Regions from separate parts of the Homo sapiens genome. Here region 2 is linked to region 1. Evidence: promoter capture Hi-C in 16 types of primary human blood cells and fetal thymus (Javierre and others, 2016). All regions are on one chromosome and are shown on one strand. Each heading gives the region's core, a stretch centred on a gene start or on the middle of the fragment in contact. The rest is flanking DNA. Distances are from core to core; before and after follow the strand shown.

Region 1 (7,230 bases), core at 3,438-5,937:
AAATAATCAAGTTTTATGGGTATAAATACTACTCTGATCTTATAGGTGAGAAAATGAAAGCATCCAGTGTGCGGGTAAGGTCACACAAAGAGTTTGTAGGCCAATACACAAATCCCAGAGACCAGGCTCAATTTCCACTCTAACTTGCTTCCTGAATGACCATCTGGTTCTTCCTAATTTCTATGTGATTATGACACTCAAAAGAAATTCACTTAAAATCTGGGCAACAGAGCTGCGCTGTGACCCCCACCTCACCCCGCAGAACATGAAGAATGCAATAAATATTAAGGTCAAGTTTTATATTCTAAATTTACAAATTAGTTTAACTATTTTTCCTCCCAGTTTCTTATATTAATTGAAAGTATGTTTACCAGTGCATTAAGACCACCCTTTGCTGACTTTACCTTTCCTACTAACATTAAACAGCCAAAACATGAATTGTTTCTTTAGCAATATATTCAAGGTGTTTAATCCAAATAACACTCGGTATCATGCATTTCCCTGAGACCTTTAAAATAAAGTGAAATTTTGGAAATCCCTTTAAGTTTATGCATCTTCCTCAGTATGTCATTCCAATTGATACTTGATTATGATATGAAGTATCTCAGAGTGCCCAGGGACAATTAGCAGGGCTAAAGGACCAAAATCCAGGTAGATTTTTCAGCTCACCAGAGGTTTTACTATGGGACTCTACTTTATCCTGTTCATGCTCACTAAAGAATAACATTCCAGACAGCTTGTATATTTTCAGAGAAGCAGGTGCTAAAGCCTTCTTAGAGGGTGCAATCAGACTGGCAAATGTATCTACTCTAATTTGGCCGATTTTTCAGCAGGCATTCACTGATTTCTGGGCATAGTTGGACAGCTCCCTTTACAGAAGGAAATTCTACTCCAAGGCACTCACCTAGACATATACCAATTTTTTTTAACCTATTGAAAATTCCTGAATTTTTCCAGTGCTTCATGCAATCACTTCAAAGTGTTAAGATTGAAATATTTTGACTCTTTTTTTTCACTTAAGTTCCAAAATTTGGGCAGACTTTTGAGATAATTTACATTGTGGCAGACTATTTACAGAACTCTGGAATAATAATGATGATTGTGATAAAAATAATTTTTATATTTGTTGAGAATATTAATTTTAAGAATGTATTAAGATATTGGAAAAAAAGAGCCAGTCAAGATTTACTTGAATTAATGTTAGCATAAAGATGATATGGACTTATTTTGGTCCGTTTATTCAACCACTCACTACCAGTGTAATATCCATCTTGGTCATAGGCATAAACTCTATGTAGCATAATGCCAAACCCAATAATAGTAGATATTCAATTAATATTGGGGATGCAAATGAAGAATGTGTATACTGCTAATGAAGTCACTACTCATGGGATCAAGCTAACATTTTTTAAAAATCTGTTGAAGTAAAGAGGATGTGAGCAGTGGGAAAGAGAAAATGTCTATTCTTTATTATTTTCCATTGCTCTACTTCCAAAATAATGCAAATTGCCCACTGTCTTTTCTGGTCATGCTGTGCATTTGGGGGAGGTGGGGCTGGGGTGGGGGGGCCGGTGGGTGGGTTTGTGTGTGTGTACCGTTGGTCCACTTAGTTTTACTACTTTCAAGCTTTAATTGACCTTACTTCCAACTAAGGAGACATATGTTCAAATCATTATTAGCTGTCTTCAATTATTTGCAAACATCAATGTAATATAGAAATCAATAATGAATTCACTCTCAGAAACAAGAAATTTCATGCTTATCATATCTACTAGACATCTGGTTGGACTGTTGTAAGTCCATTGACTGGATTACCAGTTTTGCTGGACCGTGTAGTTTGACCAGAACAAACAGACTTACTAATTCCTACCTTCTCACTAAAAGTCATAGTGATAACTGAAGGAAGAAGAAGCTTAATTCTAAATTCTAATTGTAATAATGATGAAAATATAAACTCTAATGGAGTTGGATAGGAAGAACATAGCATTATACTCTAGGGAGTCTCTGATCTGGCAACAATTAAAGTCTTAAGACTTTAAGTATTTTGAGTTCCAGATGTCCATATCTAATTAACACAAATTGAAGGCAGAGGTAGTTGTGTTACAAATGATGTGACATAACTTTCAAACCTGACAAAGTGCATTGAAAACAGATTAAAGCAGGCTCTTAGCTCATACTGGCATGAAATAAGACCATCCTATATGGCACAGAGGTGGTGCAGGTATTTACATGTGTTATTAAATTGAGTTTTGTTGTTTCTCATTAGGAGAAATTACTACAAACTGATCAGAATGCTCTTTGGAGAAGAATACACCCTCAGGTATATCATTTTCTGTTACAAAATAATTAAATAGATGTCTATTGCATGTCTTTTAGTTTGGTAATCTGGGAAATGGAATTGTTTCAGTTCTGCTTGAGATACCCATGGAATAGCATTCATTGAGTTACTGAAATGGTAATACTTTCAATCGCTGCCTTTTTTCTTCTATTGAAAATACTTTAATGCTATGTTATTGGAGTTCAGTATGATAGTTAAAATGGAGAGGCATAGTTAAATAATAGATTGTTCTGAAAAGTTACGCTTTCTGACAGTTTTTTTTTTTCCTATGACTTGTTTCTTTGAGCTCTTAGAAATGGCTGATGGCAGTTCTTTACTGGAGTGTTTTGGCAAGTGGTCATTGACTTTTGACAGTCTGTGATAATTCAAACAGCAAAGGGACATTTTATAATCCATAAGAATGCATTTGCTGTATTATTTTACAGGAGGAGTATTTTATAGAATGAGGAGGCAGTTCACCTCCCATTAGTCATCTGTGTGTTTCTTCATTTTCCATATTGTACCCAATCTGCAGTTCTTACTAGGACAAAGCATCCTTTTAAATTAACAAGAAACAAAGATCAAATAAAAAGCGCTGAATCAGACCCATTAACACCATATTAATTATGCAGTGAATACACAGTACTATTTACAGTGGACCTTTCTAAGACCAAACAATGATGTTAAAAACTCAGTTTATTCCAGGATTAGGCAAGCCTCCATAAATTTTCTATTTATCTTTAAATGCAAATGCTTATTCATTGCATAACATCGAAAGACATGGTTACTCCTACTTAGTCCTCCACAAACATCATTAGATATTTAGATGACCAATAATTTTTAATTGTGTCAATAAAGTCAGTGGAATGCTTGGCTCTGCAGAGACATAAGAATTCAAATACTTTAAGTAGACTAGATGGAAGAAAAACATATGGAGGGTAGAGTGTGAAGAGCTGTGAGCTGGGGAGAAGAGCTTGATAATTATTATTAAAATTATCTAAATGTGAAAAAATCTAGGTCTCTCTAAACATTCTTAATTCTTAGTGCTTGCAATGCCTCAGGTACCTTGAAATAGTTACCCATATGCCTGCTTATGTATTTCCGTTTTGTGTTTGTGTTTGTATGCGTGTTTGCCTAAGTGTAGTTTCTCCTGGCAGCAGCGTGTGTTTGGTGTACGTGTGCATATGTATGAGTACGAATTAATTACATATCGAAAACATGTGCATTAACGGCATCTGCAGTCCTCCCTCCCTGCTCCAGTCAGTCGGGATGTTTAGCACCGTCACTTGGTGTTAGGACCACTCGGAAGACCTGCCTGTCGGACGCCTGACTGTGGTTCCCGGGGGGCCGGAGCTCCAGGAGCCTGTACCATCTTTATCTGAAGGGGAGGAGAGAAGGAAAGGAGAAGGCATCCGAGCGAGGGTGTTCTCCTTCCTGCAGCCGGGTAGGGGGCAGCCAGGTTTGGAGCAGGGTTCTAGGATTACACGGCAAATCCCCAACTTCAGCACCGCGGACAGCATCACCTCCCGCCCAGGGAGAGGCGCGCGCCTCCTTGCTCCGCCCCCGCCCCAGCTGATGGACCCCGGCCGGTCGGCTCAGTCTCCCTTTTGCTTTCAAACGAGGCCAGGGCAGGGCAGAAGGGTTTTGACAGCCAGAGGGGTACGGTAAGGAGGAGGAAGAGGAGGAGGAGGCGGAGGAGGAGGAGGAGCCGAGGAGGGAACCGAGAAGGGAAGAGAAGGGAGGGCTTCCCTCCGCCTCGCTCGCCGCCCGGGCTCACAGGAGCTGGCGGCGGCGGCGGCGGCGGCGGCGTCTCCTGCTCTCCGCGGCTGTTGCTGCTGCTCGCGCTCCGCCGCCCGGGAGATGCTTCCTCGCGCGGCGCAGCGCTGAGGCCGTGCGTGCGCCCCGGCTGCGCTGCGCGCTCCCCACATACACAAGCTCTCCATGTGAGCTGACAGGCGAGTGGAAACCCCTCGAGTCACGCTGCCCGGCGGCGGAGGGAGCGCTCGCCCGCAGTGGCAACAGCTGCACCACCGTCCCCGTCGCTCTGCCTTCCTCTTCTGCAGCCTCTGCTCTTCTGATTACCTCCCTCCCCCGTCCTTTGGTGATTTTTTTTTTTCAAGAAGGAGAGGGCGGGGTAGGTGTCCGTTCCCTCCCCTCTTCCCCCTCCTTTGCCTTCTTGGTTTGAATTTCCTCCCCCGGCGTTGCACTGGCACACAGTGCAAGAGGCAATACCCGCACGGAGGGAGAACGAAGGCTGAGACTCCCCTGCCGCTCCAAGCCCGGAAGAACTGGAGCCTGGAGGGGGGTGAGGGGAGAAGAGGAAGCGGGAGGGGCTTGGCTTCCTCGCGTATTTGAGGACAGCCCATCTCCCTTCAAGAACCCTACGGAGAGTCGGACTGCATCTCCGCAGCGAGCTCTTGGAGCGCCGCCGGCCGGGAGGCGAAGGATGCAGGCGGCTCCGCGCGCCGGCTGCGGGGCAGCGCTCCTGCTGTGGATTGTCAGCAGCTGCCTCTGCAGAGCCTGGACGGCTCCCTCCACGTCCCGTAAGTAGCCGTCTCCTCGCTCTGCTCTGGAGCAGTTTCAGTGCGGCATTGATGTTTGGCACCAGGGTATCAACTCCGAAGTGCATCGCAGTGCTGGCACCCTGATGTGTTTGTGTCTCCGCTGTCACACACTTGCAGCCACTGCAGTAGACAAACTCGAAACCCAGCGTTTCTGTTTTGGAAGAGACAGGGTTGTGACGCTGGTGATGTTTCTGGAAAGTTGTTCCTGGTCTTGGTGATCGGTTGGCAAGAGCTTGGCTAGAGAGACTGATGTAGATGGCAGCTTCTTAGGAGTTGTTTGTGCAGGGAGAGTTAACTGCATTTGGCTTAGGTAGGTCAGTGAATGAAAAGTGAAGACCATGGCAAAACCAAGTTTCTTATTTTTATTTATGGTTATAACTTAATGAGCACGGGGTTGAGGTTAACAAGAGGAGCATGTTTTAAACAGTTTGGGCACCTATAGGGTCTCTTTAACCTCTCCCGTTCCCTTAAAAAGTTAATGCCCATTTAGTACTTGCTTATTAAAATGGAAGGCAGCGAAATTGTAACTGAAATTGCTTTAATTCTTTGATACTTTGATATCATGGATATGACTGATGCAGTACGGTACTTGGGACACTCAGTGCAAAGCGTCGTTAATGTAGTAATAAACAGATTCTTAATAGGGTTTTCAGGAAAATAATTATATTCAATATGTATATCTCTGCATTTTAATCAACTGTGTGTGTGTGTTTGTGTGTGTGTGTGTTTAAGACTGCCCCTGTTTTCATGAGGTTTAGAAAGAAATGGAAGATTCTGGCCCATTTTCTGCATTCCTTTAGAAGTGCATACTGTGCATGTAGAGAGGAAATGCATGATTGTTCCTTTGGTTCAGAAAGAGTTAAACACTAGAAAGACTGCCTATAGGAATCTTAGGATAATATTCATAAGCGCATACTAGTTTCTGAGAATGAGTAAGTTGATAAAGAATTATCGTGGAGATTTCAGAGTTTAAAAGGAAGATTTTTTTGTCCATTTAGGAAAAGAAAAGTTTAATATTTTCCAGAATTCGTCATATGCGAAGTAGTCTTTGTTTCTAAGATTTTGGGATGTATTAATGCATCTTTGTTAATAATGATCTTATTGTAGTGGTAAATATCAACAGGAATAGCATTGAAAAAGGACATTATAAGTTGTAATAAGGAATCTACTATATAATATCCGGTTATGAGCCAGTATTACTGTTTTGACATATCTTCCTAAGTACAGTATTAGCTTTTCTTTTCCCACAATGTGTAAAGATAAGGAGATAAACTAACTGGCAATCTAAGTTTGTAATGAACTTGAAAACATTGTATAGCATTTTTTATAACACAAGTTAAATCACAAAGAGTTAAATATTGTTAATATTTATGTCAATTTTATAAATTTAAACAAATTTTGGGGATATAATGCTTGCTGTTGATATTTACACAAATATGTAACTCTATCACTGGGAAACTAGTTTGATGAAATTTCTGTTTCCATTTCAAGGTCTGGTTGTATAGAATTTCCTGCCACTTTTCCTGGAAAATAAACTCCTCATATATTAAATTTATTATATTCACTGATTGAAGGTCCTCATATCCAGGGTTTTTCCTGGGTTCTGTGTTCCATCATTCTGTATACTTTAATTTTGATGGGTCCATCTGAAACATCTGCCATGAGTAGCAAATGGAACACTGGCAGCCCTTGGGTTAATGCATTTTAAGATAAAAAAGTTGTTATTTCATAAATATTTTCTGAGTTTTCAACTTTATAGTTAGAATTTGAAGACAGAGAACATAGAAACAATTACTTTTAAGATGGTTAATAGTTATGGCCATTAAGATTTTTTATTAACTTGGCTTTCATTCTCTATTGTTTAAAAATGTGTAATGGCTTAATTAAGGTGGCTTTTTATTTCGTTTGAATTTAAACTGTGTGACCAAAATGCAAAGTTGCCCTATATCCTGGAAATGAATTAAATAATAAGGATGCTACAGAACTTTATTGATTAGAATGAGTTTCATGGATTCAGTACTTTAAATATCAACTGTACTTTACATTAATGAACATTTTTATTTACATTATATATAGCTCTGAAGAAAAGTATGATAGTTATATTCTTAATATAAAACATTCAAAGGAGAAAAAGATGGAAACTACATGAATCTAAGATAATGAGCAACTCAACCAGGAGAGGTCATCACAAGACAAAAAGTAGCATGAAAATCTAAAACTATCATTTTTCTTTGGTACACATTTTTAAAATGTGATGAGTATGCTAAAACTTTCTGTTCCTAAATACCTTTTTAATATGAGGGACAGAAGATGTTTATTTCACAACAACTGCATTTCAAATATGTATTT
Region 2 (7,230 bases), core at 1,192-3,691, 1.1 Mb before region 1:
AAGGAATGTCCAGGAGGGATAAAGGCATAGCAAGCAACAGGTTCATGTGAGCACTCTTCATAGGGCTCCAGGAGATATTTCTTCAAGAAGATGAAATTGAGATATTGCTTTATGTGTCTCTATTTCCTGAGGGAAGATACAGGATTGGGAGAAAGTTTGGGGTTAAATTGATGCTAATTTAATAGAAATTAAACAATTATACAATGATTAACTGCAAGACAGAGAGTTGTACGGTAAATGAAAGCAATCGGTTTACTGCATATCTCCTTTGAGAATAGTGTTACTGTAGTCTTGTAAATATTGAATATCAATCAATTGAAATTATGGTATAACTCTACGGGAGGATAGGGAGAGGAGAAAGAGGAAATGTAGAGGGGTAAGGGAAGAAATGAAGCTTCATCTTCATCTGCCATAATGGGTATTCTTTTCACAAAACTAAAACTGACAAATCAAGAATTAGCAAACATGTTACTTAATAATATCAAAGAAATTTCTTAAAATATCAGCTTTAATAGAATTGAATGTGGCTGCTTGTAGAGAGGAGAAAATTGGACAAGAAGAAGTGGTCAGGAAAATTGCTATTTTATTTAACAACATTAATGGAATATTTAACCTTAAACTATAGTCATATGTAACTTAGACTTTTACAAAAACTGATACATAAAAAATGAGTACAACTTTGGTAATCTGAGGATTCATCATGTCCAAAGTCTGCAAGTCAATCTAATGACCCATAGGCCTAAGAAGGCCCAGTGTGCCAGAAAGATATCAGGCAGAAACGTAGCTTACATTTTGGATTGTGTAATAAATTAATGAGTCTGCTAATCTGGGGTAAAGTAAGTAAGGAGTTGCCCTTTTAAGAACTGGAATAGACTATCCTCTGTATCTAGGTAGCTGGGACCATGCTTATAGCATCGATAAAAGGACATGACTAGCCAAGAATCCAAGCCCACAATTCAGAGAAATCCTTGGTTCATTCTTGGGTTAGGGAACCTTCTCCAGGTGTATTTATTTTCAGGTTTTTTTTGTTGTCGTTGTTCAGTTTGAAAGCAGGTACAACCAGCTTAGAAAAATAATCATGGTAGACACCTTAGTTCATTCTTCTAATAAGCCTGTTGATCTGGTCCTCCCTCTTGTCAGCATCTCCTCCTTCTGCAAAATGGATGGCTGTTTTCTTTATTCTGCCTCATAGAGAAGATAATTTGAAGGGCCACAGGAAGTTATTTGCTTCTTTGAAGCATTTTCCGACAGTATAGATCTCATGAATCAGATCCTCCATGCAGATGATGCCATAGTTACCAAGAGATCGAGCAATCAAAGCATGATCTGTCGAAGCAATTTTCTTCTTATCTATTTTGCCATAACCAACCTTGTAGGTTAGTTCATTTACTGCCTTTAGATTTGGGTTCCCCCATGCAATCTATGGCTCTACAATCCTCAGCATGTAAACAGTATAGATCTCATGAATCAGATCCTCCATGCAGATGATGCCATAGTTACCAAGAGATCGAGCAATCAAAGCATGATCTGTCGAAGCAATTTTCTTCTTATCTATTTTGCCATAACCACCCTTGCAGGTTAGTTCATTTACTGACTTTAGATTTGGGTTCCCCCATGCAATCTATGGCTCTACAATCCTCAGCATGTAAATTGAAGCCTTGTTGATCTTCACACAGGTTCCATTGAAGACTTGACGAAGGCGAAGAATCTGCAACACCTTTTGGACCTTTGGGCTCACACCATTGATACCTCTGATCTTGATGACAAAGGCCAATTTGGCTTCTGCAGGTACATAGAAATTGCCAGCTTTTCTTGCCATCCTCGCCATTCGAATTTCAGTTCTGTAAATCTGCCTATATTCCTTGTAATAGTGCTTCTCTTTTTCATAGATAAGCTTCCTCCTTGCCTTTCAAAGCATCTTTTGGGCAAACTTCTTTCTCAGGCGCTTGATCTTCAGCTCTGTGAAATTCCTTTGCTTTTTCTTAAGGGTTTCTGTCACAGCAGAAACCTCCTTCTTCTTCTCTTCTACACCCTCCATGGTTCCAGTTGGAAAAAGAGGAAGTTCTATTTTCCAGTTTTTAAAGAAATTTTCACATTAGGGAGCATTACAGGAACTGAGAAAGAAGCTTGCATCTACAAAATAGAAAGAATACACAGTTGTCTCAGTTGAGGAGAGAATTGTGCGTGTGTTCTAAAATCTTTTCTCTTTGCAGTATAACAATCTGTTGGTAAATAATAAATTGCCATTTTCTTTAAAGTGAATTATTTAGGAAATATGGTTCCTCTCAATGTTTTTGAAACTATCTTAAAATAAATTAGTTGCTATGTGTATAAACAACAGTTCTTTCAGATCATTAGGAAACATTTTAACCAGTTTCATTGTTAGGGAGAACAATTACATAAGTTGGTCAGATGCGTTAGACAAAAGGTTTTGGTTAAATCCAAGTCTGGGTCACTTCGCATCTCCTTCTAATTTAAATTAGATTTAAATTTCCAAAACACCCAATAGTTACTTGAGGAGATTAGGTGGAAGAACATGAATGAATTGGCACAAATATATCAATATTCTTCACAAATTAGGGATGCTCTGGTAGAATGTGTGTTTCTATGGAGATGAGAATAACTCTGAGGCCATTGTCATGGTCTTGAATGACTGGGGTTCTAATAATTCAGCAACATTCTGTGCTTATGTATAAACTACTATTCATAGCAACTGGCCCATTGACATTTTTGCAAAGCCACTTTTGACACTCTATTAAAGCTTACATTTGTTTATGTATAGAGTGAATATTTTAGGAAATTGAGGCCTGTGTTTTTTTTTAAAAAAAAGAGAAAGTAAGATTTATTTATTCTACGATCAGCTATTTTAAAAACAAAGGGATTACAATTAACACTTGAGCCTGGAAGTCTCCTCACATAGCAAATTGCCAAAGAATTCCTTCTTAAGAAGCAACAGAGTTATTACAGATTCCTGTCTGCAGTCTGCTCCCTATCCATAAGCTCCTGATCTATGGTATATTTGCTGAATTGTCAGTGAAGTTTCTGCAGAGAAAACTGCCCTCAGTGCTGCATAGAGGAAATAATGCTAGAAGTAGAATCAAGCTGGCTTGCTGCATAATCTCAGCAAAAACACATAGATAGCCTCTCTGGGTTTTTAAGAAAATAAAAAGAAAGGCCAAAGATTAGAAAATATATTTTCAAAATATGTATTTAATAAATCACTTGTATTAAGAATATATTAACTCTTATAGCTCAATAATAAGAGAAAAAAATCTCAATTAAAAATGGGCAGAAGATTTGAACACACTTCATCAAAGAACATACACAAATGGCCAACAAACACATAAAGAGATGTTCAATGCTATTGCTAATTACCCAAATTCAAATTAACCTCATAATAAGATATTACCACATACTAGAGTTTAACAGGAGTGATAGATAGTACAGAAAATCAGGAGCAATTTGATTCTTGTCTATACCCTGATGGGCTGTTTAAATTGTCTTTTAGAAATTCTACTTTTTGCCAGAAGAATATCTAGTTTTCCTTTAGGAAGAGCATCTCCATCTAGTTGTCATCTCAGATTTTCTTAGAACCAAAAAGCATTGCCTAGAGTAAAATGTTTCTACCCTCTCTTTAGGTTCTGATATATTTTTGTAGCCTGAAATCCTTCAGTATAATTTCTGACCAAAATAGGGCATCCCACCCCTAGAAGAATTTGGATAAAATTCTCATTGCAAGCTTTGTCTTAACTCTTTCAATGAGAGAAAGAAGTCAATGGATTATAACACTGAGGAGATTCTTGGATGATTCCTCTGAGAGGGGAATAACACAACCCAGAAAATGTGTTGAGCATTCAGGTGTAAGTAGAAGATGTCTGTGGTTCCTCTACCACATTGTGAATCGTAAGTAACCATCAGAAGGCCCATCGCCACCTGCTTGCTTAGGATTTCTGACCCAGGACAGTGAATGGAGAGCCTTGCCTTAGCTTTGAATTTCCAAAACACCCAGGCTCATGGTACAGTATAGTATATGGGGACAGAGATGGTAAGTGTCAAAATTTGTATCTTTCCACATAAGGCTTGGATGGTAGGAGGTTTTTAAGAAGAAAAGCATACCTGGAAAAATTTTATATTCTAAGGGTTAACCTATAGATTAAGTATCTTAAGTTTGTTTTTTCATATCCATCATTATGAAGTACTTAGGTCCAGGAGATCTGTTTGGAAAAACCAGTGAAGTAATCATAAGGACAATTCTAGGAACAAAATATTTATGCACCCCTATTTTTTGATGACTTAGACTCATTAAGGAATTTCAGCACAAATGCACAATTTTCTCAACAAATATTATAAAAAAGATACTGAAAAGGATGGGAGAAGAGAAACAATTGGGGAAATAAGCATTTGTAAGAACATAAAATGTTAAGAAAAGCTAAACACATGAGAGTATTTTATTAACGCTTTCGTTCCCATAAAGTAGGAGTTGAGGTCTAACAAGAATGTTAAACATTAAAGCTAAAATTTAAAATTTGAGATAAGAGAAATCAAATTGAAAATAAAGGCTAAAACCAAATTCTAAAACGTCTGTAAAGAAGCAGTAAAAGTTTCAGGCAAAATGACAAAACCCAATGGGATGAGAGCCTGAAGCTGTTATTCTAGATGAGATTAAGGATAAGGAAGAATTAAGAGCTAAAAATATGGAAGTAAGAAAAAGCTTAAAGGGGAAAATTGTGAGAAAATTTGAAATATCATAGAAGATAAGTCATTCTGACATATTACCAGAATTATTCTTCAAAATGGAATAATCCTATGATGATTTGTAAAATGGCCATTCTTTAAAAAATTTTACATTGCAGTTACAGAAGGATGATTCGCTTGTAGTGGGGTGGGCCATTGGATAGTGAAAGGCAGGTCAGGGGTGTCAAGGTGCCCCAACCCAGTATGTGCAGATGGGATGGTGGGATCTAGGTAGACCCATGATGAGAACAGAGGGGACAACATGGAGTCTTGTTGGAAAGGCAGACTTTGTGATAGCTCTTGCTTGATTTTATATCTTGGTGGACCATCAGATTCTGATTTTAATGCAAATACATTCCATTCCTTTAAATATATACACTCTCTTCCATATGTATTATAAATAAAAAAGAACTTATTTAGAATAGCTCTGGGCTCACTCATGTTTTTGTATATTACTGTATCCTTTTGGAGCTGTTCTCCAAACTCTAGAGGCACCATTCAGACAGAAGAAATCAATTTCAGACACGATGGGATAACAGTTTTCAACTCACTGGGCTGCAAGTTTGCAGGTGAGTCACATAGCCTAAAAGAGACACAGACAAACAGACAGAGACACAGGCGGGCTTACTGAGACGTGGGAAGAGAGAGAAGCAGAGAGAGGATGAAGAATTAGCAGGGAAAAGAAACAATAACATCCTTGATTTGGGCCAAGGTTTTGCAACCAACTTCATGAAATCCATCTGATGTCTGCAACTGAGATGTCTATTGCAGCAAAAAACCCAGAGGCTCCACAGCAATTTTATGTACTGTTCTTATTCTGTGTTTTGTTCTCAGTGGCTTCTGGCCCTTAGCAGTGAATATTTATAATAACAGGGACGGTGATTTGTTGGGAAAAATGGGCAGAAGGGAGAGAAGTAATCCTGGTTTCTCAGTGCAAACAAGGAAAAAAAGGATGGATTTTCTGGTGGCAGTACCAGGGAATTAGGGTTTTTCAGTTCATCTACAGAACATACTGGAGAAAAGTGACCAACATCTAAATATTCCATTTGCTTATAAAAATAAAAAAGTGTCAATTGTTAAAATATATTTTTCTGAAAACTGAACATGAGAAGAAATTATGTAACTATCATACTATGACAGTTCTGTTTAATTAGCAATCAGTACAAGGCAAACATACTTCAAGAAAATTATTTTAAAAGGCAGGATTGTATAGTGCTGTCCATTTAATGAAATTTCTGTTTTCCAAAATAGACAAAATTGTGAAATTTGTGCTGCTGGTGTTCAGCAGCTCTGATCTTTCCTTTATTATTGTTATTATTATTATTTTATTTATATTTTTTGAGATGGAGTTTTGCTCTTGTTGCTCATGCTGGATTGCAATGGCGTGATCTCGGCTCACTGCAACCTCCGCCTCCTGGGTTCAAGTGATTCTCCTGCCTCAGCCTCCCAAGTAGCTGGGATGACAGGCATGTGCCACCACACCCTGCTAATTTTTGTATTTTTATTAGAGATGGGGTTTCGCCATGTTCACCAGGCTGGTTACGAACTCCTGATCTCAAGTGATCTGCCCGCCTGGGCCTTCCAAAGTGCTGGGATTACAGGCATGAGCCACGGCACCTGGCCTGATCTTTTCTTTCTTTAGAGCTCGTTAGTGCCCTTCGTGCCATTTCCTCCTCCTCCACAATGTGGGATGGCACCCAGTGCCCTGGAGAGCCCAGTCCTCCCCTAGATGAGCAATTTGTTATAGGAACCATTTACAATTTCGTATCAAGGAGTTTACAAGTCACTGCCTCAATTCTATATTTTAAGACGTATATTTTTCTAAATAAAATATTTGCTTTGGCTAAAGAGCTTTCACTCACCTATGAGCAGCTGAACAGAGGGAATTTCAGAAGGCAGAGGGTACTTCCATTGCACCTAAAACTCTACCTCTAAAAGAATTGATTTTGTCAGTGAGGAAGGCCTAAAATGGTAGTTTATTTTCCAAAAGTGAAGCAAACAAAAAAAATCAGAGGATATTATATATTTGTATATAATACGTATCTCCAGTGAAAAGCTGATCTTTTTGTCCTTTGTCTAGATGGCTTGTACAGAGGCTAAATGGAATGCTATTTGGTTTCTTCAGGTCATAGAAACCTAGCATGGGGGGGCTGCAGAGGCAAGAGGCTTAGATGAACTGTGTGACTTTCATTTGGCACCAAATTTTGAGCAGTGTGTTTAATGCCATCACACAGTCTTCTAAATTAAACTGCTGAATGTATCTCAAGTTTGAAATGAGTCTTAGATATCACAGCAGCAAAATGGTACTTTGAGAGAGGCTCCTGAAGCACTTCATGCTTAGGGAATAGATTTCAAGTCCTCATAGTAGAACCAGATAGGCATTAGACTTGTGCGCGTGTTCCTTCTCCGCAGTCCTTCCAGCAGCTTCTGAACTCTCTGCCTTTGCCTGCCGTGCAGGAGGGAAGCTGAGAGCCCTTTCCTGCCTGCACTGCCCTG

The links. The method cuts DNA at HindIII sites, captures the fragments that hold promoters and counts their contacts. A CHiCAGO score of 5 or more calls a contact.
Region 2: a fragment that was not itself captured here is called in contact with the fragment with the promoter of CNTNAP2 in region 1 in 1 of 17 cell types (total B cells); the score reaches 5.1 in total B cells.

The regions. Positions count from the first base shown.
Region 1 is chr7:146,112,114-146,119,343 of GRCh38, forward strand. It overlaps CNTNAP2 (contactin associated protein 2), which reads left to right and starts at 4,688. Exons shown (of 24, transcript NM_014141.6): 1 at 4,688-4,860. The coding sequence starts at 4,764. The HindIII fragment of the contact is 7,089 bases long and covers 1,911-7,230 here.
Region 2 is chr7:145,038,904-145,046,133 of GRCh38, forward strand. It overlaps the pseudogene RPL7P59. Among named protein-coding and RNA genes, the nearest start is that of TPK1, 210 kb to the left of the region's middle. The HindIII fragment of the contact is 635 bases long and covers 2,125-2,759 here.